Linked DNA regions of Homo sapiens: regions 2, 3 and 4 are each linked to region 1. The links are contacts of gene promoters, found by promoter capture Hi-C in blood cells and fetal thymus (Javierre and others, 2016). All regions are on one chromosome and are shown on one strand. Each heading gives the region's core, a stretch centred on a gene start or on the middle of the fragment in contact. The rest is flanking DNA. Distances are from core to core; before and after follow the strand shown. Region 1 holds the start of EPB41L4A (erythrocyte membrane protein band 4.1 like 4A). Region 2 overlaps APC (APC regulator of Wnt signaling pathway). Region 3 holds the start of APC (APC regulator of Wnt signaling pathway). Region 4 overlaps EPB41L4A (erythrocyte membrane protein band 4.1 like 4A).

Region 1 (6,461 bases), core at 1,050-3,549:
GAATCCTCTTGTCACTAGTAATCTCTAATTTTGTGTTAAATAGATTTTAAATGTTCTTTTCTCCAGTCTCCGATAAAGAAATGGAAAAGAAAATGCTTCACTCAGGAAAGAGTGTCATATGTATGGGACCTTATGGCTTTGTAACTTACCTTATGAGGAGCTGGGAACAGAATCCCTGCCCATCCAAAACCCTCAGCCTTCTCACTGCCACTGGAGGTAAAAAAACAAAAACAAACAACAGCAAAACCAAAAATCAGAAAGCAAAAAAACCAAATCAAAGGGCCAAAAAACAGGTGAGAGCAAAACTCAAAAAAACTGGGAACAGATGATTGCTTGAACCTTTTGTTTTTGCAGCCTCAAGTGTCTCGGTTGGATATGGAGGTAAAGAATGAAAATGTTAAGCCATCTTTCAATCACATTTGGTAACTCCTGTCAGGAATACTGTATTACAGAAAAGAAAAGCCTCTACAAGCAGAAATGCTAAAATCTAGCATAATAAGGTGTCACCTCATAAGGCAGGCAAGACTTTGACAATAAAACAAAGCTGGACACGAAATTTGATCAGAAATTCAAAACCTGAGTCAATTTCACAGAAAATTCAGAAGATAAAATAGTTTTATTCATAGCCTAGGTAAAGTTCAGAAATTTATATTGCACTTTGGCGGTTATGCTGATCCTGTGTTTGGATGGGGTCACAATAGCAGGGAAGGCCGAGGCTTCCTACAGAAGGTCCTTTGTGGCAAATCACTATGAGAGGAAACTCCATCAAAAGTCGCCAATTGTTCATTTCATTTCTACTGTGCTACGGAAGCCTGGTTTTGTTTTAAGGGCTAACGTCCTAGGTTTTAAGCAATTTTTTTTGAGCTTTGGCTACCCAGCTAACAAGCAGTAGAATAGTCAACTCAAAACTACGTCTGATGCCAAAGCTCTAACTCTAAAACTCAATATAGAGTTTTTTTTCTGTGACACCTCCCCTCGTGTCTCCCCTAACTGCGACTCGCATTAACTCGCTGCTGGTTCCCAGCTGGAGAGCACAGATTGCACCTGCTCCGAAGCCCAGCGGGGCTCAGTGTCGTCCGCAGCTCAACCTCGGCTGCCTGTGCACGGACATCGGGACCCACCAGGGGTCACTGCAGCTTCAGAGCTATTGTGCCCCTCAGTCCTGGACGCGGCCGACCGCGCGGAGGGCGTGGGATTGGGACCGCCGAACCGTGGGGTCCGAGCAGCACCGCGTCCTCTTCTCCCCACCCAGCCTCCAGGTCTCTCGGGGGAAGGACGCAGCGAGCGCTGGACTGCCCCGCGGCTTGGGCGCAGTGTGCGGCTTGGCAGCGTGGACTCGCCGGCACCTCGCCGCTGGGACCACGGTCTCTGCCCCGCCCTCCGCCCCCAGCTGATACCCCGCCCAGAAGGGGCTCCCCTGCCGCGGCCAGCGCTGGACTGGGGGGTCCGCTTCGTTCCAGGGCTTTTTGCAGACGCCTGGACCGGGCCCACATGCACCTGGGCTGCTCCCGCCCGGGGCGCCACCACTCGCGCGGCCAAGAGAACTTTCCCCGGAGCCTCTGCGGCCTGGCGCGCCCAGGGCGCACCCCCCGCTCGCCCGTCCGCCGCGTTCCCAGCTGGGGCGTCGCTCCTCCGCCCGCAGGTCCCCGCCTCCCCGCTTTGCTGAATGTCCTGAAGAAGCCGTATTCCGCCGCCGCGGCAGGCATTCCCGGAGGGAGAGCTTGAACTTGGCTACACACGGCCACCCGTAATGAGCTCGGGAGTCCCCGGACGGGAGCCACACCCCGCGACGAGCTGACCTCCCCTCGCTGGTCTGGGTAAGGAGCCTGCTGCCCTTTCCGCCTCTCTTCCGGCTCCTCGGCGCTTGCGGCTGGGGGACGGGGTAGCGGACGGAGCGACGACCTTCGCCTCTGCCCCTGCGCCCATGGTCGGGGCGTCGTGGGTGCTCCTCACACAAAAGAAAAGCCGAGCGCTTCATACTCGGCGGATCTGACCCGGGGCTGCGGGGCGGGGTCGCGGCTGGAAGTGCGCGCCCGCGGGGGACTCCGCAGGCCGATCGGACGCCAGGACGTCGGGGCCGCGCTCAAATCCGTGCGGCAGGAGGGAGGTGCAGCGCTTCCAGGGTTTTCCAAGGCCGGGGAGAGCCTCGAATTCCCATCACTCCTTTTTCTGGTCTCTTGCCCCCAGTGCCAGGAGACTTTTGTCGTCCCCAGGACTGCGGGAGGGGCCCCGCGCCCCCGCCTTCGGAGGAGCTCGAGCCGCAGGATGCGCGGGGACGCGCCACCGCCCTCCGCGCCCAGTTCCGCCGGCGCTTCCCCGGCGGCTCCCGGGCGCTGACTCTCCCGGGCTTTTCCGCCTTTCTCGCTCCCGCCCCGCCGGGCGGTTCGGCGGCCGGTCCCCGGACCCCGCCGGGAGCTGCTCGTCTCACCCTCGCCACGGCGCGGACAATAAATTAATGCATCGCGCTTGAGTGGAGGGGGCGGCTGGGCGCCTCGGTGGTAGCTTTCTCTCCTGGCTGGAGACGACCACAACCGACATGGGCTGTTTCTGCGCTGTTCCGGAAGAATTTTACTGCGAAGTTTTGCTCCTGGATGAATCCAAGTTAACCCTTACCACCCAGCAGCAGGGCATCAAGGTGGGTGCGGCCCGGAGCGCGTTCCGGGGGTTGGCGGCAGGGCGGGTGCGGGGGTCCATCGCTTTGAGGGCTGTCACCGGTGGGTCGAGGGCGGCGGCCGCGACTCTGCGCGGTGGGGAGGAGAGGCCGCTGTCCCCTGCGCGCAGGGAGAGGGTGGACGTACCAGGGTGAGTTAACTTTGAGTTCCTTCATAAAGCAAAGTTGAGTTTGACGTTTCTAAGTTTACTCAGCACACCGGCTCCCAGCAGCACCCCAAAACTCTTCCCCAAACCGGTTTTCTCCAAAAGCCTCTGGGTGCCCCGCAGCTCTCAAAGAGGGGCAGAATGGGTTATACCAGCTGCGTCCCACCAGTGTGGAAGGCATGGTTTCCCTCGACTTTGTTGAAGGCGTTTTCCTTGACAGTGTTATTAGGGAAGTGAACTAGTTCACTCGTTGAAACGCATTAATGGGTCATTGTGATTGTTTTGCGTGGGTTCGTAGTTGGGTAATGCTACGTTTGGACGGAAAATATTTTCCCTTTCTACAGCGACCTGGGTTTATCCTCACATTTAAGTAAACATCTCTCAAAGCGACCCAGTAATAACTTTGCTCCTGTTTGTGGGTCATTAAAATGCAATCACTACATTAACCTAGAGAGCCCAAACAAAAAGGCAGCAGAGCTCGCAGAGATCCTCTTCCTTACATTGGATGAGAAGGTACGTATGTTTGTAGTGACAACCTGACCGACGCGCCTGCGTGCTTGTTTTGCTTTTGCAACAGTGTTAACTACCTAAAGGAGATCTAAATCCGGAGCGTTTTGTTGTTTTGTTTATCTTTCTCTTTCAGTTTTAGATCGCTAAGGCATTTTAGATAAGGCAACAGCTGAGTCTGGTGAAGGGAAACCGCCCCCCCGCCCCCGCTCTGATAGAGCTGGCTTTCTGAGAAATCGAGTTCAGGCTGCCAAGTATCCTCTCTTAGTCGCTTCATCTCAGAAGTTAATCATAATGGGGTAGGCCCTGGGCATTTCCTTTTGTGAATCAGTTTTTACATAGTTTTATGCACACTAGGATAACTATTCCTGGCTAAAAGTTTCAGCGTTAATGTTGCCATTCTTAGTGTACAGAATTCCAGTTTCATAGGTGTAATTCTTTTGCGGGAGAAAGGAGCAAAAATAATCAGTTAAAGCTACAAGATTGTTAACCCTTTCCTTTAGGAGGTTGTTTTGAATATTGTTTCCCCAGTAATTATACTGAGCAAAATTCAGTTCGATTCTCATTCGGTATTTCCTTTCAAGACCAATAAAATAGACTCTTTTCGGGGAGGGTGTACATTTTGTATTTTTAACTTTTCTTTATGTTCCAAAATATTTCTCCTCTCACCCGCCCAATGAAATCAGGAAAATATTGTAACTTACAAGATGATGTAACATTCTTTGGTGTACTGTATGAATAAAATAGGCAAAAATCACAAAAACATCCTAAATTGTAGATAATATATAGATTCTTGTGTCGAGATAGAAACAATTAGAAAAAGGTAACTGATGATCAGATACTAAGACAGTAAAGAAATCTTTTTGAAGTGCAAAGTCTAAATTATCTGGAGTCTAAAGTCATCTGGAATGTGAGCTTCCTATTTAATCATCAAAGTCATGCCTATCAGCTGTAGAGCGTGTACATTATTCTGTCAAGAGAGCAGCCAGGACTTGGGATCAAATGGAATAATTTTGTCAAAGAAACATGAATCAAAAATCCTGATCCATAATTATTTTTTATAATCCAGTGGTGCTTATCTTGTTTTACAAATGGGCTGAAAATTGGTGAGTGATTCAAAGGCAACAGCAACTATGTAATACTGTTACTTTGGATATGGGCCATATAACTAAACAATAATTTAAGCAGGCTGTTGTTGGAAATAATCATTTAACAACAGGCTTGGCCTCTGTCCTTGTCACAAAAGCATGCCACAATTATTTTGATGGCCATGTGTGTAACACAGATGTTGTCTGCTAAAGCTAATCACATTATCTTCTATGCTACCTTAAAAGTGTATGTGTTAAACACCTACCCACCCTTGGCGTGTACTAAATTAAATATATTTGCATATTTATAAATGGTGTGTATAAAAAAACTTGCATGTAGAGGTATTCAAACATTGGATGAACATGTTTATGTTCTGTACATACTTGACATTTTAAAAAACTTTTTCCTAACCTTCCTGTATTATGGTGCATAGGTACAATTGATGTGTGTTGCATTAATTACTTAAAATTAACTCCTACTTTAGTTTGTAAATGAAAAAGTAAACAGTTACTTCAAAGTTAATAGCCAGTAGCTACCATTATGGTGTTTTTCCTTGAGATAGTATACTTAGTAATTTTGATTACCACTAATTAAAGTCAAAATTAAGCAGGCAACATCAATTAGCCTACTGTTCTCTGAAATTAACTAGAAAAATCTCTATTTTTCAAAAGCATTTCCTAACATTTATTTTGTGATTATCCTTTTTCCTATTCTATCTTAGATGAAGATGGCTAATTTTACATTAAAATTATGCACACATTTCATCTCTTAGTAGAAATAATTTTACTGATTCCTAAATGGTTACTTGAGAATTTGCTTGTATTATTGTTACAGTAATGCACTGTGAATTAGAAAAGATTAATTATAGCAAGTTAAGGTGGAAGAAATATGAGAGAATCTTGGTAAACATTTTTTCTGTGTATCATTTTGAAAAACATTCTTTGGATTTATTTAAGCACCAAATTACAAATAGAAAAGTTAGTTTTGAAGTGATTTTTCTTCAACTTAGATAAAGTTTTTCATCGATGTTAGAAAAAAAATTAATGTGTCATCATGAAAAGTGTTTCAGCCTGAAGACAACAGTTACTCATCTTATATGGTAAGATGAATATCAGTTAAATGGAAAATAATTTTATTTCCATTTAATTTCCATTTAAATGGAAAATAATTTTCTGTTAAAAAAAAAATACCAGAAAAATAAAACACAGTATCTTTGCATCCCTGTTAATGTTACGGAGGTATTTGCCTTTTTTACTTGCTTTAGGGGCAACCTCACCTTGATAGCAGAAAGTCTTATTCATGCAGTTCACAGTTTGAACCTTATCCGAGATTTAAAAACTCAAGTTTACATAAGCTGAGAGCTATTGGTTGTGTGTTGAGCCCTACAATAGCTTTTAGCTGTTTGTCTTTTGCTGCTATCTGTTGTTTATTCAAGTAAGGATATTTGGTATGGTTGGTCTCAGTTGTTTGAGTAATGTTCTGGGAAACTTTTGTTGTATCCTTTCTAGTTCTCTGTGCTGAGGGAGGTAGATAACTTTCTTTTTGTTCTCTTAGCAAAACTTGAATGTGGCTCAGACTGCTTTTCTAGTTTTTCATTTGGTTAGCAAAACATTTTCAGGAAAACAAAAGTCACAAGATTTGATTATAAATTTAATTCTCAAAATTGCTGCTACAAATATGAAATAGATTAGTATTTTCATTTTGGCAAGATTTTAATCCTCTGAGTAGCATGATGAATGTTTAGGTGCTCATTTTTCCCTATGAGTATTGACTAAACTAATGAAACCAATATGGCAGTAAGATGAAAATTCCATTACCTTCTTTTAAATGGCTTTGTTAAGGTATACCATACATTTCGCCCAGTTAAAGTGTATAGTTCATCCATTAACTACTAAATAATGTTACTTCCCAATCATCCTGAGATTCCTGAGGGAATACTGTGAGTCAGTTTTGATGCTTTTGGTTAGAAATTTCCTAATAAGCTAGGAAAACAAGCATAAGGCGAGGGCTTAAATTTTATGCATCTCACTTACCAAAAATTACAATTT
Region 2 (6,461 bases), core at 1-2,500, 350 kb before region 1:
CTTTGAGTTTAAAAATGCAAAATGCTCTAAGTGTTAGCTATCACCTACTATAAATTCACAATTTAAATATTATATTACAAAATAACAATAAACTGGAGTACACAAGGCAATGTTTACTATATGAAGAAAAGTTACCTCTCTTTCTCAAGTTCTTCTAAATATCCAGTACTTTCTCTGCTTCCATTTACAAACCCTCTTCTTGGAAATGAACCCATAGGAACAGGACTGCACTCTCCAGAACGGCTTGATACAGATCCTTCCCGGCTTCCATAAGAACGGAGGGACATTTTTGACCGCAGTTTTACTCCAGGGAAATTACTGCTATCTAAGTTAAGCTCTAAATAAAATAGAAACAAGTTTTTATACAACAATTGCTTTAAGCAGTCTAAAATATTCTTAATGTTATATTATTTTAAAGTGAAATATTAGGTTTACATTTTAACCACAAATATACATGACTGAAAACAAAAATTATTTAGGACTTTCCCTGAAAAGTCCACTTGGGTCAGGGTAAAAATAAGGAGTGTGTTAAAGGAAAATTAGATAAAATGTACTTCCTTAGACTTCCTCTAAATAATATTTTAGAATCCAAAAGTAATTTCTCTGTCTGGCTTCAATTATTATCAAGCACTTTCTCTGTTCTGACACTGGAATTTTCAAGCAACAGAATGAGAAAGATATCCTTTTAAAACTGCTAAAAATGAATTATAATCAACTTATATATGTGAAAAGGTTAAAGTATTTCTATCCTGAATGAAGAAGACAATACTTCTTCCAATGAAACAGTAGGCTCAAGTCTATGGCATATAGAATACTAAAGCCCTATTTAGTGACTGGCAGAATAGCAACAAGCTTTACAAAGAGCCGAAAATTATTTAAGGGAGGGATTTAAAATAGTTCATTCAAAGCCAGTTAAATGTTTAACTGAAGAAATGACACACAAATACATTTTTTATTTATTTGTACTTTAACAATTACATCCTGAGGGTAAGGCTAACATACCAAGAAAACTGATACCAACACCCAAATCGAGAGAAGCTGTACTTGGATCTACACACCTAAAGATGACAATTTGAGCTTAAAAAATTATTTTAAAACACCTTTTTAAAATCTACCTTTAAGACGCTCTAATAAATCAATCTGTCCAGAAGAAGCCATAGCTTCATCTTCAATACTTCCTTGTAGTTGTTTAAGTACTTCCTGTTAAAAAGAACACAATATATTAACATGAAATTCTAAATAACTTCAAGACATGATTCTGTATTTCTTGACATTTAAGTATGCTGAGAAAAAAATTCAGATCACTCTCAAAGCACGCACCTTATATATATTACCTATTATTCATTATTAATAAATAAATCATGGCCAAATAATAATAGTGATATTTTGAGATAATGGTGATTATGGGGAGTCTCTGTGCAAGGTATTAGAAACACATTTAAGATACATTCATTATTTCAAACCTAAAAACCAACAATGCAAATTATTCTCATTTTTCAGATAAAACAAGTGAGACCCAGAGACTTGCTCAAGTTACAAAAGCTACTTATGTGTTTAGAATCCATGTCTCTTAAGCGTGCACCAACATGACCATAAAAAACACCAAATTAACACATAATCTATTTAACAACTTCAACATTCAAGCTTTTATATACCACATTTAAGTATATTCTGCTAGTATACTAATTTACAATTAGCATACATTCAAATGACTGTATGTTCACTACTTCTTGACTTTTGATGCTTTTCTTCTTTCCCATGTAATCCCTTTCTTGATCATTTTTTCTCAAAGAATGTTGGAAATTTTCATTTTCTACCAGTTTTTCTGCCATTACATTTGTGAACTTTGGCTCTTATTGCATGCTACTTAATAATAATTTATATTATTTTCCATTTACTGAGGCATTCCATTCTAGCTCCTAGCATAGTTCTTTGGCCAATCAGGTTTCCTGAATGCAAGACAAAATATTTGAACATTTGCAACTTTGTAACTAAATGGAACGTTCCCCTATAAGAAAAGTAATCTGTAAATACATTAAAAGGAAAACCTGTCAAAAAGTGAGTGACTGGAGCAAAGACGGTTTCACTGATTTATCTTGACAGTGACATTGTAAGCATTCATGGTGGCTCATGCCTGTAACCTCAACGCTTTGGGAGGCTAAGGCAGGAAGGTCACTTGAGTCCAGGAGTTTGAGACCAGCCTGAACAACATAGCGAGACTCTGTCCCTACAAAATTAAAAAAACAAACAAACAAAAACCATGAGTGGTGGCATGTGCCTGTAGTCCCAGCTACTTGGGAGGCTGAGGCAGGAGAATCACTTGAGCCCAGAAGTTTGAGGCTGCAGTGAGCCACAGTCTCACCACTGCACTCCAGCCTGGGGGACAGAGTGAGACCTCAGCTAAAAAAACAGAAACAAAGAAATCGCCCCCAAACCCCAGAATTCCTTTTAATAAATAGCCTTAGTATCTGACCTTCAAAATAATAGACTATGTTGGAGTTTGAAAGGCTTTGGTAAGTAGATGTGGGGGCATGAAGGTGACTGTATTATTTTCAAAATATTCCAGAGTGTTTTACATTTGTGGAATAGAAAACAAATTTGCTCAGTGATAACTTCCTTTACTGAATTTGAATATGCCCATCAAAATGTCTACTATAAACTTCAGGGCACCATCTCTTCCATTTAAGAACTCTCATTGGAGACTACCTGTGATTTTTCCAGGATTCCAATTCTCTTTCCATCCATTGCTACTGTTTTAGTCCTTCAATAATCCTTTTTTAATCTTATCCTTATTTCTCAGGCTTCCGGTCTCACAATTCAACAACTACCCTTGAGCAGTTAATTTCCAATGACATGTCTCGAATCCTAACTTCACTTGCAAACTTCAGACTCACTTTTCCAACCAACTGATGGATGCTTTACATCTGTATGACAGGTACCATACATCTAAATGTCCAGAACTGAACTAACATTTTGTACCAATAAAGCCTATTCTTTGCCTTGTATTCTCTCAGTTAAATGGCATTAGCCTTCTCTTTCTCCTCCAGCTCAAATCCTTAGCACCTCTTCCTTCACATTCCCAGTTATGGATTTCTGGTGATTCTACCTCTATTAGCTCTCTTACAGCTATCTCTTTCATATTCTTACTGCCACTATCTTGTTATTAACCCTACCTAAACTATGAAAATAATTTCCCAAGTGGCTCAACCTTGCACAGAGCTGTCAGAGCAGCCTTTTTAAGGCACAGCTGTGATCAGGTCTCTTTTTTTTTTTTTTTTTTGAGACGGAGTCTCGCTCTGTCGCCCAGGCTGGAGAGCAGTGGCGCAATCTCGGCTCACTGAAAGCTCCGCCTCCCAAGTTCACGCCATTCTCCTGCCTCAGCCTCCCCAGTAGCTGGGACTACAGGCTCCCGCCACCACGCCCGGCTAATTTTTTTTTTTTTTTTTTAGTATAGTAGAGACGGGGTTTCACCGTGTTAGCCAGGATGGTCTCGATCTCCTGACATCACCATCCGCCCGCGTCAGCCTCCCAAAGTGCTGGGATTACAGGCGTGAGCCACCGCGCCCGGCCGATCAGGTCTCTCTTTGTAAGATTCTTCTCCAAAGCCTACAGTAGTGTTCTCAAGCGTCAGCATGGATCAGAATCACCTGAAGACCTTGTTAAAACATAGACTGTCGATTCAGTAAGCCTGGGGTAGAGGCTGAAAATCTGCATTTTGAACAAGTTCTCAGGTGAAGCTGATGCTGAAAGCAGAATCATTAAAATGTTAACAGTGTTATTCTATGGAGACTGAAATTACAAGCAATTTCTTTTTTACTTGTTGTGTCATACTTTTTAAACAATATGTATTAGAAAAAATCCTACTTGTTTTTAGAAAAGTTACAAAGATTTAAAAGTTTAAAAATAAAAAATCCTTCGTACATCATTGGACATACATCTAATTTTTTCAAAACTAATGGTACATTAATGGTCTTTTTAAAAAGAAATAATAAAAACTTAAAATACTAAAAAAAGAAATTAAAAAGCCATATAAATTCAGATGTCCAACAATAAGTATTAAATAAACCATAGCATTTTTTAGCTGTACCTACAATGGAATACTATGCAACTGTAAAATACATAATCTGACGTAAGATGACAATAAATTACACAGAAAAAAAAAACCTGCAAAATATGATGTCATCAAATGCAAGTTTGCATAAATGTATAGAGAAAAGAATATATATATATACTATCAAAGGTTACTTTTACCTCTGGTGATGGGATTTAAATTTAAAAAAAAATAGTTGATTTTGATTTTTTTTGTCCACACTTCCTAATTTAATAAAATAGTGAATATACTCAACTTGTAATAAAGTTCTATTTTTAAAAATTTCTGTACACATTGTTAGAAATCTATTGATAGCTATAAGCATAAAGGTAAATAAGATTTAAGGTCAAACAATTTTTAAAAAGATTCCCAAAGTAGTCACCTTGGAAAGCTACTAACTTACTCCAATGATGTGTTAAATTACTTTTGTAAGTGCTTTGAGTTATGAACCTCATCAACAAAATCTGTGTAAATTTACAGTCACATCCAGTTACTTTGCCTTAAGATGATACCATCCAATATGACCTACATTATTTACTAGTTTGCTGTGAACAGTTTATGGCTATTCCACAATAAAAACTGACCTCAAGTAATTTTTTTCCTGTTTTATTGAGGCACAACACACATATGTAAAATACACTAATCCTAAATATCCAGTGAATTTTCACACCCATGTAATCACTATCTAGGTGAAAATACATTTCTAGCACCCCAGAGGGTTCCCTCAAGCTCCTTTTACCAATCTTCATTTCCTAGAGGTAACCACTATTCTGGCTTCTTTATCAGAAGAGTTTGGCATGCTCTTGACCTTCATATAAATGGAATCACACAGTACATAAGTATTTTGTGTCTCACTTTTTTTGTTCAACATAGTATCTGTGAAATCTGTCCATGCTGTTGCCTTATCAGTTCATTGTTTTTAAATGTTGTATAGTATGTAGCAGTCCACTGTATAAATACAGCCCAATTTATCTATCCTTTCTCCTCTTAAAGGGGCATCTGGGCTGTTACCAGTCTGCAGGCTATTATTTAGAATGTCACTATGAACATTCTTGTACCGTTTAGTGGACACTTGCCCTCACTTCTCTTGAGTACATTTCTAGGAGTGCAAACACTGAGTCATAGGGTTTAATTTTAAAGGAAACTGCCAAAATGGTTTTTAATACTTCTCTCAGCAATGCCTGAGCATTCCAATGCTCCACATTTGGTGTGATCAGTCTTTTAAACATCAGTCATTTGAGTAGGAGTGAAATAGTCTTTGCATTTCCCTGATGCCAAATGATGCTGAATCCCTTTTCATGGACTTATCTGCCATTTATCTTTCTTTTTGAATTGTCTTTTCAAGTCCCTGGGTCACATTTTAAAAACTGGATTGTCTTTTTGTTACTGGTTTGTGGGATTTATATATTCTGAAGGAATTACTTAATATATTCTGAACTGAGCCTTTGGTCAGATATATGTATTGCAAATATTTTCTCCTCTATGGCTTACTTTTTCATTTTCTTAATGAAGTCTTCTGAAAAGCACAGGTTTTTAATTTTGATGAAGTTTATCTTATACATTTTTATGTTTAGTCTTTTGTGTGTCCTAAGAAATTTTGCCCACCCAAGGCCACATAGATAAGATTATCCTATGTTTTCTTCTAGAAGCACACTCGAGTCTTTTGATGAACAAGAGTTCTTAGTTTTAATGAGGTCTATCAAATTTCTTTCTATATATGGTGCTTTGGCATTCTGTTTAAGACATCTTTGCCTACTCCCAGGACAAGAAGCTATTACCTATGTTTTCTTCTAGAAGCCATTGTTTTGTCTTTTTTGTTTTTTCCATTTTTTTCTCTGTGCTTCAGTTTGAATATTTTCTACTGATCTTTTTTCAAGTTCACTAATTCTGTCTTCTCACTAGTTCACTAATTCAGTGTTCAGCCTGCTGTTAAGCCCATCCAATGTTAATTTCAAATATATTTTTCAGTTCTAGAATATCTATTTGATTCCTTTTAATTATAGACTCCAATTCTCTGTCAAAATTTTCTATCTGTTCATTTTTCTTTTTTTCAAGACATTTATAATACTTATGTTAAAATCCTTGACTACTAACTGCAACATGTGGATCATCTGAGTTTGCTCCTATTACCTATTTGTTCCCTTGATTATCAGTAATCTTCCAGTTTCTCTGCATTTCATATAACGTTTGACTGTATGCCAACTGTGTATACAAGAACAAAAGAGACTTAAGATGATTGATAGTATTTTCCTCTAGAGAGTCTGCCTTTTCCATTGTTGGGGTCTGATCTCCTCAATCCAATTAGCAACTAAAAATGGATTGGGACCCGCTGGGGGTGGTGGCTCACACCTGTAATCTCAGCACTTTGGGA
Region 3 (6,461 bases), core at 2,919-5,418, 320 kb before region 1:
AAACTTACGGCCTTCACTGGAGGAACAGTGATAGGTACTATAGAATACTATAGAGCAGAGTTAGCATCACAAACTAGATGGACATAAAGTAAAATGGATAGATCTTAAAAACAGTATTGAGTTAATAATGTTCAAAAATTATGTAAATTAAAAACACAGGTTTGAGTACACACAAAAAAAGTAAAACCCAAGCAGACACTTGCACACCCACGTTCATAGTAGCATTATTCATGATAGACAAAAGGTGGAAACAACCTGAAGTGTCCACTGACAGATGAATGAACAAAATGTGGCATATACATGCAATGGAACATCATTTAGACCTAAAAAGGAAAGAAATTCTGACACATGGCTACAGTATGGATGAACCTTCGAGACATTATGCTAAGTGAAATAAGCCAGGTGCAAAAGAATAAATATTAAATGGTTTTTCTTATTAGAGGTTCCCAGAATAGTCAAATTCTTTGAGACAAAAAGTGGAGTGGTGGTTGCCAAGGGTTGGGGGGAGGGGAAAATGGCATGTTAGTGTTTAATGTGCACAGAGTTTTAATTAGGGAAGATTAAAAATTTCTAGAGATGGGTGGTGGTGATGGTTGCACAACAATGTGAATGAACTTAATGCCACAGAACTGTACAATTAAAAGTGCTTAAGATGGTAAATTTTATGTATATTTATCACAATAAAATTTTTTTAAAAATCTCATTAACTGTAAAAAACAGACTCACAAAATGATGCTATTTCTCAAGAATTTATGCATATTAAACACACAAGAAGAGTGGGTGCAGGGTGTGAGAATAAAGGGGAGAAGGCTTACCTTGTATCAACTGATGATGTATGATTTGATTTACAAAGTCAACTTTTGAGAACATACCTATTCACCTAATGTTCTCATTGTACATTCAAGATACTTAGTACTTCAAAAGTAATTTAGTTTTCAAAAATTCTCTGTGACTCTAAGCAGATTTTATGAAAAAGCAGTGTTTCAAACAGCAATCCACCATATTCTTCTAAATTAGAGGATATCTTAGATTATATAAATCTTTAAATATCCTAGGAGTAGCCAAAGCAGTGTTTAACTTGTAATGAAATTTCACATAATTCTACCATGAGTTTTCTTAGAGATTAGTTTACGTGTCTTATTTGACTCCAGCATTTTTCAAAGATGATATTTAGAAGGTATCCTAATAAATATGTAGTGAATATATTTCCTAAACTATTACCCATCTTTTCTGAACCATAATACTCTATCCCATTTTATGTGCTGCATAGGTAGGTTTCAGATTCTAATACAAGAAAAGGGGGAGAAGGGAGATCAAAATTGAAGAGAACATTTAAACATATACAAGTATAAAAGATCATTTAAACATATACAAGTATAAAAGATTGGTTAAATTTCATAAAATGAGTAACAGTTTATAAAACAGACAAAAATGGTAAAATCTACAGAGCAATTAATGCAAATGGAAAAACTTCATGGTGGCTCACACCTGTAAATCCCAGCACTTTGGGAGGCTGAGGTGGGAGGATCATTTGAGCTCACGAGTTCGAGACCACCCTGGGCAACATGGTGAAACCCCATCTCTACAAAAAATATAAAAATTAGCTGTGCACGGTGGTATGTGCCTGTAGTCCCTGCTACCTGGAGGGCTGAAGTGGGAGCATCACTTGAGCCTGCGAGGTTGAAGCTGCAAGTGAGCCATGTTTGCTACTGCACGCCAGCCTGGGTTGACAAAGTGAGACCCTGTCTCAAAAAAAAAAAAAAAAAAAGAAAAAAAAACACAAAAAACAAAAACTTCAATAGCTTAAATTCAGTTCATAAAACATTTATGAATATTTAATTTTAAATTCCTTAAACAGCACAATTCAGGCCATATCAGAGCAGTGAATAATTTCAAAGACCACTAAAGCCAATAGGTCAGTCATAGATTAGATATACTACAAGAGGAATGAAATAAACTTTAGTTCTTTATTTCTTATTTAATTCAGAAAAACATCTCAATCTAACACTGTTCTACTTAAATGTGTTCATATGATTAATAAGACGATCTTTAAAAAGTCGTTTATGAATGTCATTATGAAAACTGCTGCTTCTCCATTTGCTTAGTCACCAGGTATTTTTTAAAGCATTCTTATATTGTAGATAAAAATCCACAACCAAGTAGGATTGCCTTTTCATTTTTTGAATAATTTGTCAGTGACTTACACTGTTTTTCAAATTACCTCTGTTATATATTATTTTGTATGTATGTAATAAAAGGCATTATAGTTTTATAGAATTAGAATAAAATAGAAGACTTAAGTTCTTTACATTGTTATACAATATTTGACCTTGGATAAAGTCACAACATACTTGAATAGGAGTCTCTAACATTTAAAATAAAAATAATGCTACAATGAGCTGTTAAAATGGTAAAAGGTAATTTATGTAAAAATAATAGTTTTATAGACTCTCAAACACTATGCTAATGGAATTCAAAGAACTGAGTAATATTAGCTGTTAAATGTCATTTGGAATTTTAATGTGACATCTTTAGTTCTAGCCATAGTTTCCATCAGATTTTAAAAAAGAGACTCTAAGTACTTTTTTTTGAGATAGGGTCTTGCTTGGTTGCCCAGGCTGGTCTTGAACGCCAAGGCTCAAGTGATCCTCCTGCCTCAGCTTCCCTCAGCCTCCTGTTTAGCTTGTATTACAGGCATGGGCCACCACGCCCGGCTCCTAAGTACTATTAACCCTGATATCCATGATCAAGTAATTCTTAAAGCAGAAATAATTTTTTAAAGAACTATTTAAATTTATCAGTGAAAAACTTATGTAGTCTTATTTATCTAAGCCAGCCCAATTCCGCATTATCTTGAAAATATTACTGAAACAATATAATAGGTCATCTTAAGACTTTCTATTACATAAACATTATTTAAGAGACACTGTCACTGACCCTGGAGGGCTTTACAAAGCCACTGCCATCCTTGTTCAGGGAGTGGGGAGGTGTGGCAGGCTGGCTACTATAAGTATGCATAAAGATAGGCTTTTACATTTAGGTAAAGGAAAAAAAAGCTCAATGAAAAACACTTTATATCAAGAGTATATCTCATGAGTACTCACTAAACAGAAATACATCTAGAAGAAAAGCCATGTTGCTTTAATTTAAAATATTTGCACACTGAATTAATATCTTAAATATTTATTCAGTGTTATCTAAAAGCAACCAAAGAGAAATATAAAATTACTTAACTATAGGTCTTAAATATTAGGCCTACAAAAATTTGTTCACCATAATTTTTGACAAAGTAATTTACGTTGTAAAGTGGTTTGCTCTTGAATGACCTAATTAATGGCATAAAAGCTTCACTAACAAAAGAAAAGATCCACTGTTTCATACATAATTTATTAAGATTTCGTATAGGATTTATGTTAAATCAAAGAATTTGAGCATCACTTTCGTGATGTAGAATCAAAGTGTCCAATACATTCCAATGACAAAACATTCATAGCCTGACATTATTCCTACTTTAAAAAACAGTAATTTTTTTTCTGCTGTTCAGGCTGCATTTATAAACTATGGCTTCTTGTAAATGGGCTTCTACCCCAGCATTTGCTGCAAGGTTTCTTATTCCTCTGCAGTTGTCTTTTCGGCCTAACAGAGGGAGAAAAAGCACTGCTGCAGTCGTCCGCAAAAAGCCACTACCACTGCATTTTGTAACTAACAAAGACACTGGTATCTGTTTGCCACCCTGTTCACAGGGAGTTTACTTAGATGTTTTACAAAAGCAGGCACACTACTGGTGACCAGTATTTCACCAACCAACACCACCACTCACGCTCTGCAGTACCTGCCTCCTCCTCTTTCTCTCATCCCCAGTAGCTCTTTCCACTAGATTCACATCAGCCATCTGCAGCGGTTTTGTCTCCTCTCTCTTTTGGCCACCAATGCATGTGTCCTTGTCGCCAGGGAGGAAAAGAAGCCTTTCAATGGGGTAGAGCTTTTGCTCCTCGCCATGAATATGCTCCATTCTTTGTTGTCCTCTACCCGTTTCCTTAGATACTGTTATTCCACTCTGTCAAATGGCATTATAAAAACAAAAACCCCTTCTGGCTTCAAAAACAGCTTTTCTCAGCAGACTCCCCTTAACACTTCTACCCCTCCCCCTTCTTCCTCTTCTGTCAAAAACCCTGGATCCGAAGTACAGGAAATCCATCTCCAGTGCTGCAGTGGGGGGCGGGGGGACGACGCCCCTGCCTCCTCGTTTGGCATGCTGCAGTGGACCCTGTGCCAAGGAAAGGCCATCGGTTTAAGACAGTGCGAGGGAAAACCACCTTCCCCCCTCCCCCCGCAGCAAGCCTGGCCATGGTGGCTCCAGCACCTACCCCATTTCCGAGTCCGGCAGCACCTCCATTCTGTCTCCAGTGACACCCTGGCGGGCTGCACCAATACAGCCACATGTCGGTCACGTGCGCCCACACCCAGCCAATCGGCGGGCTCCCGACGGGAATGGGGAGCGCCCTGGTCCGCATCCAGCGGATTACACAGCTGCTTCTCTCTCCGCTTCCCGACCCGCACTCCGCAGTGGGGCACAGGGCCCCGCCCAACCGCACAGCCTGCCTAGCCCTAGCCCCGTACCCCTCGGGGGTATGCCCTCGCGGCCCCAGTCCCCAGCAAGCAAGGAAGTTGATGGCAGTTGACACGCATAGTAAAGAGTCGGGGGAGGTCCGCAGGGCAGAAGGATTAGCACAAGATGCCGGAGGTGGGAGGGAGAGTAATAAATTACATCTCGATTGCTATGATTTTTGCAGCACAGAGAAACAATAATATTAAATGAATTACAATGAATAATTTTACATTACAAGTCACTGAGTTGTCAGAGTGATGACTTGTTAGATAGATCACTCGAATTATATTTGAATTAAAAATAGTTACCAGAAAAGCTATGCTAGCAGCTTAGTAGTGGAGATCAGAACTCTGGAAGTCTGGGTTGCCTGAGTTGAAGCTTTACTCCTGTCACTCTAGCTCTGTAACTTTAGTTACTTAACCTCTCAGTGTTTCAATTTCCTGCTGTATAAAACGGGAACAGAAGTACAGAATAGAGGAGTTAATATATATGAAGTATTTAGAGCAGTCCCTGACACATACATAGAAGTGCTGTTAGCTACTACAAATCTGAGGCTTTAATGTAGTATTTTAATGCAAATTCTACATTGCATTTAAATCGAACCAGGTGATGCTTAAATTCCCAATTTTATGAGGTTGAAGGACAAAATCCAAACTGTCAAGAATATATAAAGTTAAACTTAAATTCTGGTTTAAATGGGGGGAAACCAGTTTCTATTATCTATTTAAAATTTAAAAGGATACTATACTTCAAGTTTTCTTTGTTTGTTTTTTGAGATAGAGTCTTGCTCTGTCACCAGGCGAGTGCAGTGGTGCAATCTCCGCTCACTGCAACCTCCACCTCCCGGGTTCAAGCGATTCTCCTGCCTCAGCCTCCCAAGTAGCTGGGACTACAGGCACGTGCCATCATGCCCAGCTAAGTTTTGTATTTTTAGTAGAGACGGGGTTTCACCATGCTGGCCAGGATGGTCTCAATCTCCTGACCTTGTGATCCGCCCACCTCGGTCCCTCCAAGTACTGGGATTACATGCGTGAGCCACTGTGCCCGGCCTAAACTTAAAGTTTTTAAATGAAGCATATTATAATCGTTTCTTAATTTTCAAATAGTATGAAAAGAAGCAAGCTATTAAATAGCATATTTGAGGCAATTCCATTTGATTAAAAAATGTATATATTAGAAAAGCAATAGACACACAACAAAATGTCCATAGAGGTTATTCCTGGAAAGTGAGATTATGGAGCTATTTCTGCTGTCCTTTCGTGCTTTGTTTTTTTTCTCTTTCATTAGTCCCTGTGTTACAATGCCTGATATACAGCAAATACACCCCAAATATTTATTTAACAAGTGAGTTATTTCCACACTGATGGCATACTACTGTTCTATTAAAAGTTTAAATATATTTAGAAACAATTTCCCTTCATATTTGAAATAAATAAAAGCATGTAAATCAATTTGATTATATTCTAAATAACTCTCTTTTGAGAATGACTTCATTTTACAAAAGGCTTTCAAAATCCTCTTACTGAAAGCACATGATTCACTGCACAGGACTTATTTACAAGTCATTTTTTGTGACAAATTCAGAATAGGTAATTTCTCATAAGGCCTAGAACTTCCAGAAGGAAAACAGTCTTTCAAAACAAAGAATACCTTTTAAAAGGTCCTCAAAAGAACTTCTTAGTACCCTAAGACACAATTGTAAGCCTATTACTCTTGACTCAGACTATGATACAAGCTATTATTTAGTAAACCAGTTTGTAGCCAAAATGTTTGTCTAAATTTTTACTGCATGTATCATAGATATTCATCAGTGACTTAAATGACATAGTTGTAAAGAAAGCTACGACCATTA
Region 4 (6,461 bases), core at 3,962-6,461, 260 kb after region 1:
TCTGTCTTCTCCATCACAATTACCTTAATTCTGGAAATGTTTTTAAAATGTAGTTAAAAAGGAATTCAGACAGAACACCTAGCTGCCTTAACAAAATCACTTTAACACTTAGCTGAATTTGATAATCAGGGGAACACTGTAGCAAACATAGTTCAGGAAGAGTTTCATACCGCCTCTCATGATGTATTTTTTAATAAGATGGGAAAAAATGTGGGCTGAATAAGACAGTTAGATGGATTTATATCTGGTTAAACAACCACTGTAAAACTCTAAAAACAAAGTTGATGTGTCTGATGGATCAGGGTCAGCCCGTTGTTCGTCGTGTTGTGGTTTTCAGTGTCATTTGATCATGGATCCTTTAGAAAAGCCAGTTGTATCTACTGACTCTCATCCCATAAAAATGCATCTAAGCACATGTACAGTTTTTGGACCACGTAAGAAGCCTGACACCAGCAGTATCTATCATGTATGGCCCTTTTTGTTTTTATCAATGACTGGAGCAAGGCCTGTGCTAATTTAGGTTAGGTTCCCTAGATAGATTCTGAAATGGAGATCTGCATGCAGGAAGCTTGTTGGAAAGTGCCCACGGGATCCATAGTTGTTGGGGAGAAAGTCAAAGACGGGTTTGGGCAGAGGCAAGAGCTGATCCGCACAGGGAGCTCTAGAGCTGAGATGGCTCTTCAAATTCATTCTACTTTGGGACAAGGGGGTTGAACTTTTACACATTCACACTCACCCCATAGAAGTCACTGGGTAAGGGATGTTCTGGGAAGGGGGATTTCTCTTCAACTGAGGGCAGTTCCTGGGGAGGGGCTCAGTTTTGAGCTACACGGCAGGCAACACTCCCAGCAGCTAGAGAATGAATGCCTCAGTCTAGAATGGCGATCTGCATGGTAAACGCAGCTTCTACTATAATCTGCATAATATTTGATGAGATCAGCCTGGGAGAGCTAATAGGTTGTCCAAATAGACGATTGGTTTAAAGTTGACAGTACTTTTTCAAAATTATATTCATGATTAAGTTTAGGCTTTGCATTCTGACTGACCTGAATCATTTGTGTTTCATCTCTGTGTACTACTTGTGTAACTTTAATACTGCTAAACTTCTAAGCCTCAATTTTTATACAGTGTAGATAACCTACCTCCTAGGGTTATTGTGATGATTAATAAGCAGTTATCTTTCGGTGTTTTTTTTTTTTTTTTTGTCTTAAATTTTAGTTGGTTTCAATACAAGTAGTAATTTTTATTTCCACTCAGGAATTAAAAAAACTTACACATATTCTAAGTTGGAAGAATAGCTTTCACTTTGCGGGATACAAGAACTCACATGCATCTTCTGATCAGTGGCACTGATTCTAAGCCTGTCTCCAGGACACTCTTGATTTTGAATTCAGTAAATATCCAGTGAGCCCATCTAAGGAGTGTTGAGCACTGGTCTGAGCAATCAGCAAACCATGGCCTAAGGGCCAAATCTAGTCTGCTGCCTTTGTACAGCCCAGAAGCCAGTAATGGTTTTTACACCTTTAAAGGGTTGTTTAAAAGCAAAACAAAATAACAGTAACACGTGACACAAACAGGATGTAGTTTACAGTCTGGCTCTTTATAAAAAAGTTTGATGACCCTAGCCTAGACCTGGAGGCATAAAAGTAAACAGTTAAAACAAATAGGAGTATGCATTACAAAGAAATGCCTGAGCTAGAGAAGCAACAAAGTGACCTCACTTTACATGTTTAGGGTGGTCAGAGGCCATCTCAGAGAGTGGCATTTAAAGCTGAGACCTGGCAGGTGAGGAGCTAGCCATGTGAGTGGCTGCAAGGCTGATGTAATCAGAGTGAGGAATGTAGGGAAAATGCTGACTCTGGAGAGGGCCTGGGTATTTGAGGAGCTGAAAGACCAACATGCAGTGAGCTTGAGGGGAAAGGCAGATAACACAGGGACTTAAAGGCTGTGGGAAGCGTTTGGATCTTACTGTTTTATTCCAAGTGCTAAAAGGAAGCCACTCATCTGGCTGCCAAGCGGAGAAGGGGCTGGAGTGACCAGTGGAAGCTGGAAAGGTACATTTTTAAGGTACAACTTTAAGTTCTAATTTCCACCACAATGCCACCAGAGTTCTGGCAGTGACCTGCCTTACACCTCACCTTGCCTTTTCACGCAAAGGCTGCTAAGAATGGGGAAGAATAGCAACTTAATTTCTTAAGGTCTGCAGAGTGGACAGATTCAATCCTAGACAAACTTACAACATAGTACTTATTTCAGGTCCTCTCCTAGCACTTTTTTTCTGGTAATTCTTCTGCTGTATTCTCCTCTCACATTCACTGGTGTTCTCTTCCCACCTCTGGCTATCTAGAAATCTTCCATCCCAAATAGATGGGTTCATGCTTCCCATGATAGGCAGAATAATTATTCCATCAGTGCTTTTTGAATGTCAGTAAAACAAATTAAGCCAGTCATAGGAACAGATTAAAGGTAGCTGCATTTTAAGAGGGATTTATTTATTTTTAGCTCAAACAAATCTCAAAATAGATTGGGACGGTATAGCCCATTATTTATGGGAATATACATTTGGGGAAGGAAATATGCTTGCCAGCCTGATACACTGACAATGTTAGACCATCCTTGGAAGTAAGAGGAGGAGGGGTTCGCATAAGAAGTAGTAGTTGTGAGTTAGTGTCATTCTCAGAGCCTCCACCAGTGATGATGGGAGATGTGTAAAACCTAAGTTTTACAAACTAGTGGATGTGGTGCCCAGGCTCTGGTAATGAGCTGCCCTGTTTCTCCGTATGAGACAAGTGATAGGGGCTCACAAGACATTGTTCCATTCATTGACTACTGAAAATATAATCAGGGGATTATAAATTGCCTCCAAGTCTCCATCACTATCCTGTTTGGAAGAGTGAGGTTGAGAGCCTGGTTTGGGAATTGTTAACAAAAGTAATGACACTGATTTGGGTGAATTATGCCTAATATTCATGAATAAAATCGTTATGCATGTAAATGTCAGACTAACTTTGTATATTAAAGTTTAAATACAAACTTTATTTTGCACAGCTATTTAGAGGGAACATTTATTGAATAGCTTTTGGTATTATGAAACTTTTGAATTAACTCAGTATCTTAAATTTAAGAGCAGCTTGGTTTCTGATGTAATTAAAATACTTCATTTGGCTGTTTTCTTCTGAATCTTTCTACATTTTTCAAATATATTTTAGAGAAGAAATGGGTCTAAAGATAGCCTGATGGAAGAAAAACCTCAGACATCTACAAACAACCTGGCTGGAAAACACACAGCAAAAACAATAAAAACTATACAAGCTTCCCGCCTCAAGACAGAGACTTGATCCTGATGAAGGGTCAAGGGTAGGGGTGGGAAGGTTGTGTGCGCCACTGGTACTTTTGAAACTGTGAAATAGGTATCTTAATTCAAATCTCAGACCTGCAAGTATTTCTTCAGCATGAGAAAATACATTATCTTTTGCTTCTTTTTTTTTTTTTTTTTGAGATGTTATCACTCTGTCGCCCAGGCTGGAGTGCAGCGGCACCGTGTCAGCTCACCGCAGCCTCCACTTACTGGGTTAAGCGATTCTCCTGTCTCAGGCTCCCGAGCAGCTGGGATTACAGGCGTGCACCACAACACCCGGCTAATTCTTTTTGTATTTTTAGTAGAGACAGGGCTTTGCCATGTTGGAGGCTGGTCTCGAACTCCTGACCTCAAGTGATCCGCCTGCCTCAGCCTCCCAAAGTGCTGGGATTATAGGCCATGGTTTAACTACAGCACAGTTGTGCTGAAGGACCTTTTTGTTTTAACTGGAAGAATAAGTATTTTGTAAAAATTCACTTGATACCACATTTTCATTTCTGGAACAGGATAGCAATCATTCATTTCTATCTTGTGTCTGTGTCCACCACAACCAAGACCAGATGCATCTGATGAACATTCTGGAATTCTGAACTGCAGCTAGCCTGCTGTGCAATAGTACAAGTGGGAGGACGTCTTCCCAGGGCTGGGCTGGTTCTCAACTAGTGCCCAGATGCAAAAGGACTGAGGCATCACTTTCAGACTGCATATATTTTTATTCATATAAAGTTCTTTATAATACTTTATTTTGTGGTGTTAAGTTCCACCAGTTATTTACAAATGATGTAAAAAGCTTTAAGTGTTGTTAATTTCTAAAGTGTTCTTGCGTTTTCAGAAGTGTAAGTGGATCTCAGTTGATCTGTCACCCCAAACCTCAAATGATCCATCCACCCTGCTTGGCCATCTAATTCACCTGCTCTCCCCAGTGACTATTTTGTACCTTTCCTCTCCATAGATGACTTTGCAATCTACAGGGAAAATACTTATGCAGGACATCTTATATCTCCCCCTTACCACGTACAGTTCTCTCCACAGCTGCCAGCAGCCCTAACCTTTTTGTCTCTCCACCTGTGCTTTGGATGCTCTTCTCCCAGCCTTTTCAGGATCTTTGTCTGTCCTCCTATATTAATGTATTCAATTATTCTCTCAGCTAGATCCTTGCTACTTGGTTTTAAATTTAAGACTAAGATTAAACAAAACTATCTTTCACAACCACAAACCCCCTCCCGCCAAGCAACTAAGATTTTCCTCTCATTCTCAGCCAGTTTTCTTGCAAGCAGTATCTTTAGTCATTGCCCTCAATTCATCTAATCCCTATCTTAAGCTATCTCTAACATGGATCTTTCCCTCTACTCCACTAATATCAATCACTGTGTTACTTAATCCCAGGGAGAATTTTTAGGACATTCTTTTGCTTCTTTAATATAATCCTATTTTGCTCCTACCACTGACCATCCTTTCTGGCTTATCATGCTTTACCTTGCCATTAATTAGTGGAGTTTCTCAAACTTCAGACCCTAGGCCCTCTTCCTCTACCACCAGCAGATCTCATTTATACCCATGGCCTTAAGGTTTATTTCTGTAGTTTAGACTACTGAGTAATGTGCTACTGCAAAAAGACCATTTGGGTTTCTCAAAGGTAATTTAAAAATTCAGCTGTTTAAATGCTGCTCCCCAGCTGAATCTAGGGTCATTATGCTCATCAGTGTGCAAGCTGGACACCTAGCAGTTATGGACACCTCCACTATTACCACGTCTAGTTGGCTCTGTCATCCAACTATAAACGATCTTATTTCACTAATTTTACTAGTCCAAGCTGGTCTCTTGTCTAGACAACAATAAGCAACCTAGTTCAACTACCTTTTCTTGCAAATCTGATTTTCCACCATGGATTTATCTTGCTTTAATAAAGCCAGAGGGAGCCTGAAGTGGTCTGGCTTCTTTACCTACCTCTTCAGCCTCATTTTGTAACACTCTCACCTCCCATAATAGCCATCTTACAAGCCTCAGTAAGGACTCAGTTCTAAAACAGGGCACTGAAGAGGGAAAGCAGCCAAAACTGTCTCAAAAGTAAGTGGACTAACGGTATCTTTTTTCTAGCCCAAGCCTCTGTATATGTCATTCCCCCAGTTTTGCCTTGTGAAAAATATGACACATACCTTTAGTCTCAACTCTTTCTCAGGTTTCCCTAAGAAAATCCTATCACGGAACTCATCTCATAGTGAAGTTTTACATTTGTGATGACATTCCCTCCACTTATCTATGTTTCCAAAGGGAAGAACTGTGTTGTGCTCATCATCGTGTTCTCAGCTCCTAGTACAGTGCTTTCAATAAATTTTTTGAATACCTCTATACATTATTTGTCGTTTCCTGCAAAGCAAAGGCAGAAGATATGGCAACATTAAATGTACAATTTAGTTGGAGGAAAAATACGCATTGAGTGCAGTAAAGCACACCTGTCACTAGAAATCAGTCTAGTTCTAGCCACGATTTTTGAGTCACTGGAAGAAAGTACATTTCTCTTTGGGCCAAACACAAGCTATTTTAAGGCTATTAATTATGGTGACAGCAGTGAATACTGATCAAAAAAGAACCCCTCCTCCCTTATAACTTTTTAGAAATAGCTGTTTCTGGCAGTTAATCACTTAAAACACAAATGCCAAAGTGCATTAATATATTTATTCACATCCTCACTGTCTTAAATGTGTATTTACAGACTCCAGCAGGTAATTATGTCAGTACTCCTCAGACTCCCAGAAATTTCAAATGATCCAGGCAACTCTTGTGAAGATCAAATTTTCAAAATCCTCACCAAGGACATCCTAAGAGAAAAAATAAAGTACTCAATTCGACAGCAAATATTTTTGTATTACATTTTAATCAAGAACTTGGTAATATGCCTGCGATTTCACAAGCTTTTAAAAAACTCAATTACTACACATAAAAACAAATCTTAAAGAGATGCAGAATGCCAGTACTATGCGTATTTATTTCCCTGGGCTTCTCAGGAAGTATCAGCAAAACCTTCCCAAAAATAAGCTGTGGAGGCTATCCCATTTATTAACTCACCTTAATAGCTACAGACAGAGCAACACTACGAATGTAC

The links. Contacts are between HindIII fragments. The CHiCAGO score rates a contact against its expected background, and 5 or more counts as called.
Region 2: a fragment that was not itself captured here is called in contact with the fragment with the promoter of EPB41L4A in region 1 in 2 of 17 cell types (erythroblasts and total B cells); the score reaches 5.6 in erythroblasts.
Region 3: a fragment that was not itself captured here is called in contact with the fragment with the promoter of EPB41L4A in region 1 in 1 of 17 cell types (total B cells); the score reaches 5.7 in total B cells.
Region 4: a contact is called between a fragment that was not itself captured here and the fragment with the promoter of EPB41L4A in region 1, in 2 of 17 cell types (endothelial precursors and erythroblasts). The highest score is 8.3, in endothelial precursors.

What each region holds. Positions count from the first base shown.
Region 1 is chr5:112,415,115-112,421,575 of GRCh38, reverse strand. EPB41L4A (erythrocyte membrane protein band 4.1 like 4A) reads left to right here and starts at 2,299. Exons shown (of 23, transcript NM_022140.5): 1 at 2,299-2,635. The coding sequence starts at 2,537. EPB41L4A-DT (EPB41L4A divergent transcript) reads right to left here and starts at 1,993. Exons shown (of 1, transcript NR_027706.1): 1 at 598-1,993. RefSeq lists a silencer at 1,545-1,634. The HindIII fragment of the contact is 9,034 bases long and covers 1-6,461 here.
Region 2 is chr5:112,761,065-112,767,525 of GRCh38, reverse strand. APC (APC regulator of Wnt signaling pathway) reads right to left here. Exons shown (of 16, transcript NM_000038.6): 3 at 1,116-1,200; 4 at 136-337. Among named protein-coding and RNA genes, the nearest start is that of APC, 26 kb to the right of the region's middle. The HindIII fragment of the contact is 792 bases long and covers 855-1,646 here.
Region 3 is chr5:112,735,832-112,742,292 of GRCh38, reverse strand. APC (APC regulator of Wnt signaling pathway) reads right to left here and starts at 4,408. Exons shown (of 16, transcript NM_000038.6): 1 at 4,368-4,408. The HindIII fragment of the contact is 1,642 bases long and covers 3,348-4,989 here.
Region 4 is chr5:112,161,867-112,168,327 of GRCh38, reverse strand. EPB41L4A (erythrocyte membrane protein band 4.1 like 4A) reads left to right here. Exons shown (of 23, transcript NM_022140.5): 23 at 3,210-5,709. The coding sequence ends at 3,338. EPB41L4A-AS1 (EPB41L4A antisense RNA 1) reads right to left here. Exons shown (of 3, transcript NR_015370.2): 3 at 5,827-6,177. Among named protein-coding and RNA genes, the nearest start is that of SNORA13, 3.6 kb to the right of the region's middle. RefSeq lists enhancers at 1,509-2,186, 2,187-2,864. The HindIII fragment of the contact is 2,122 bases long and covers 4,151-6,272 here.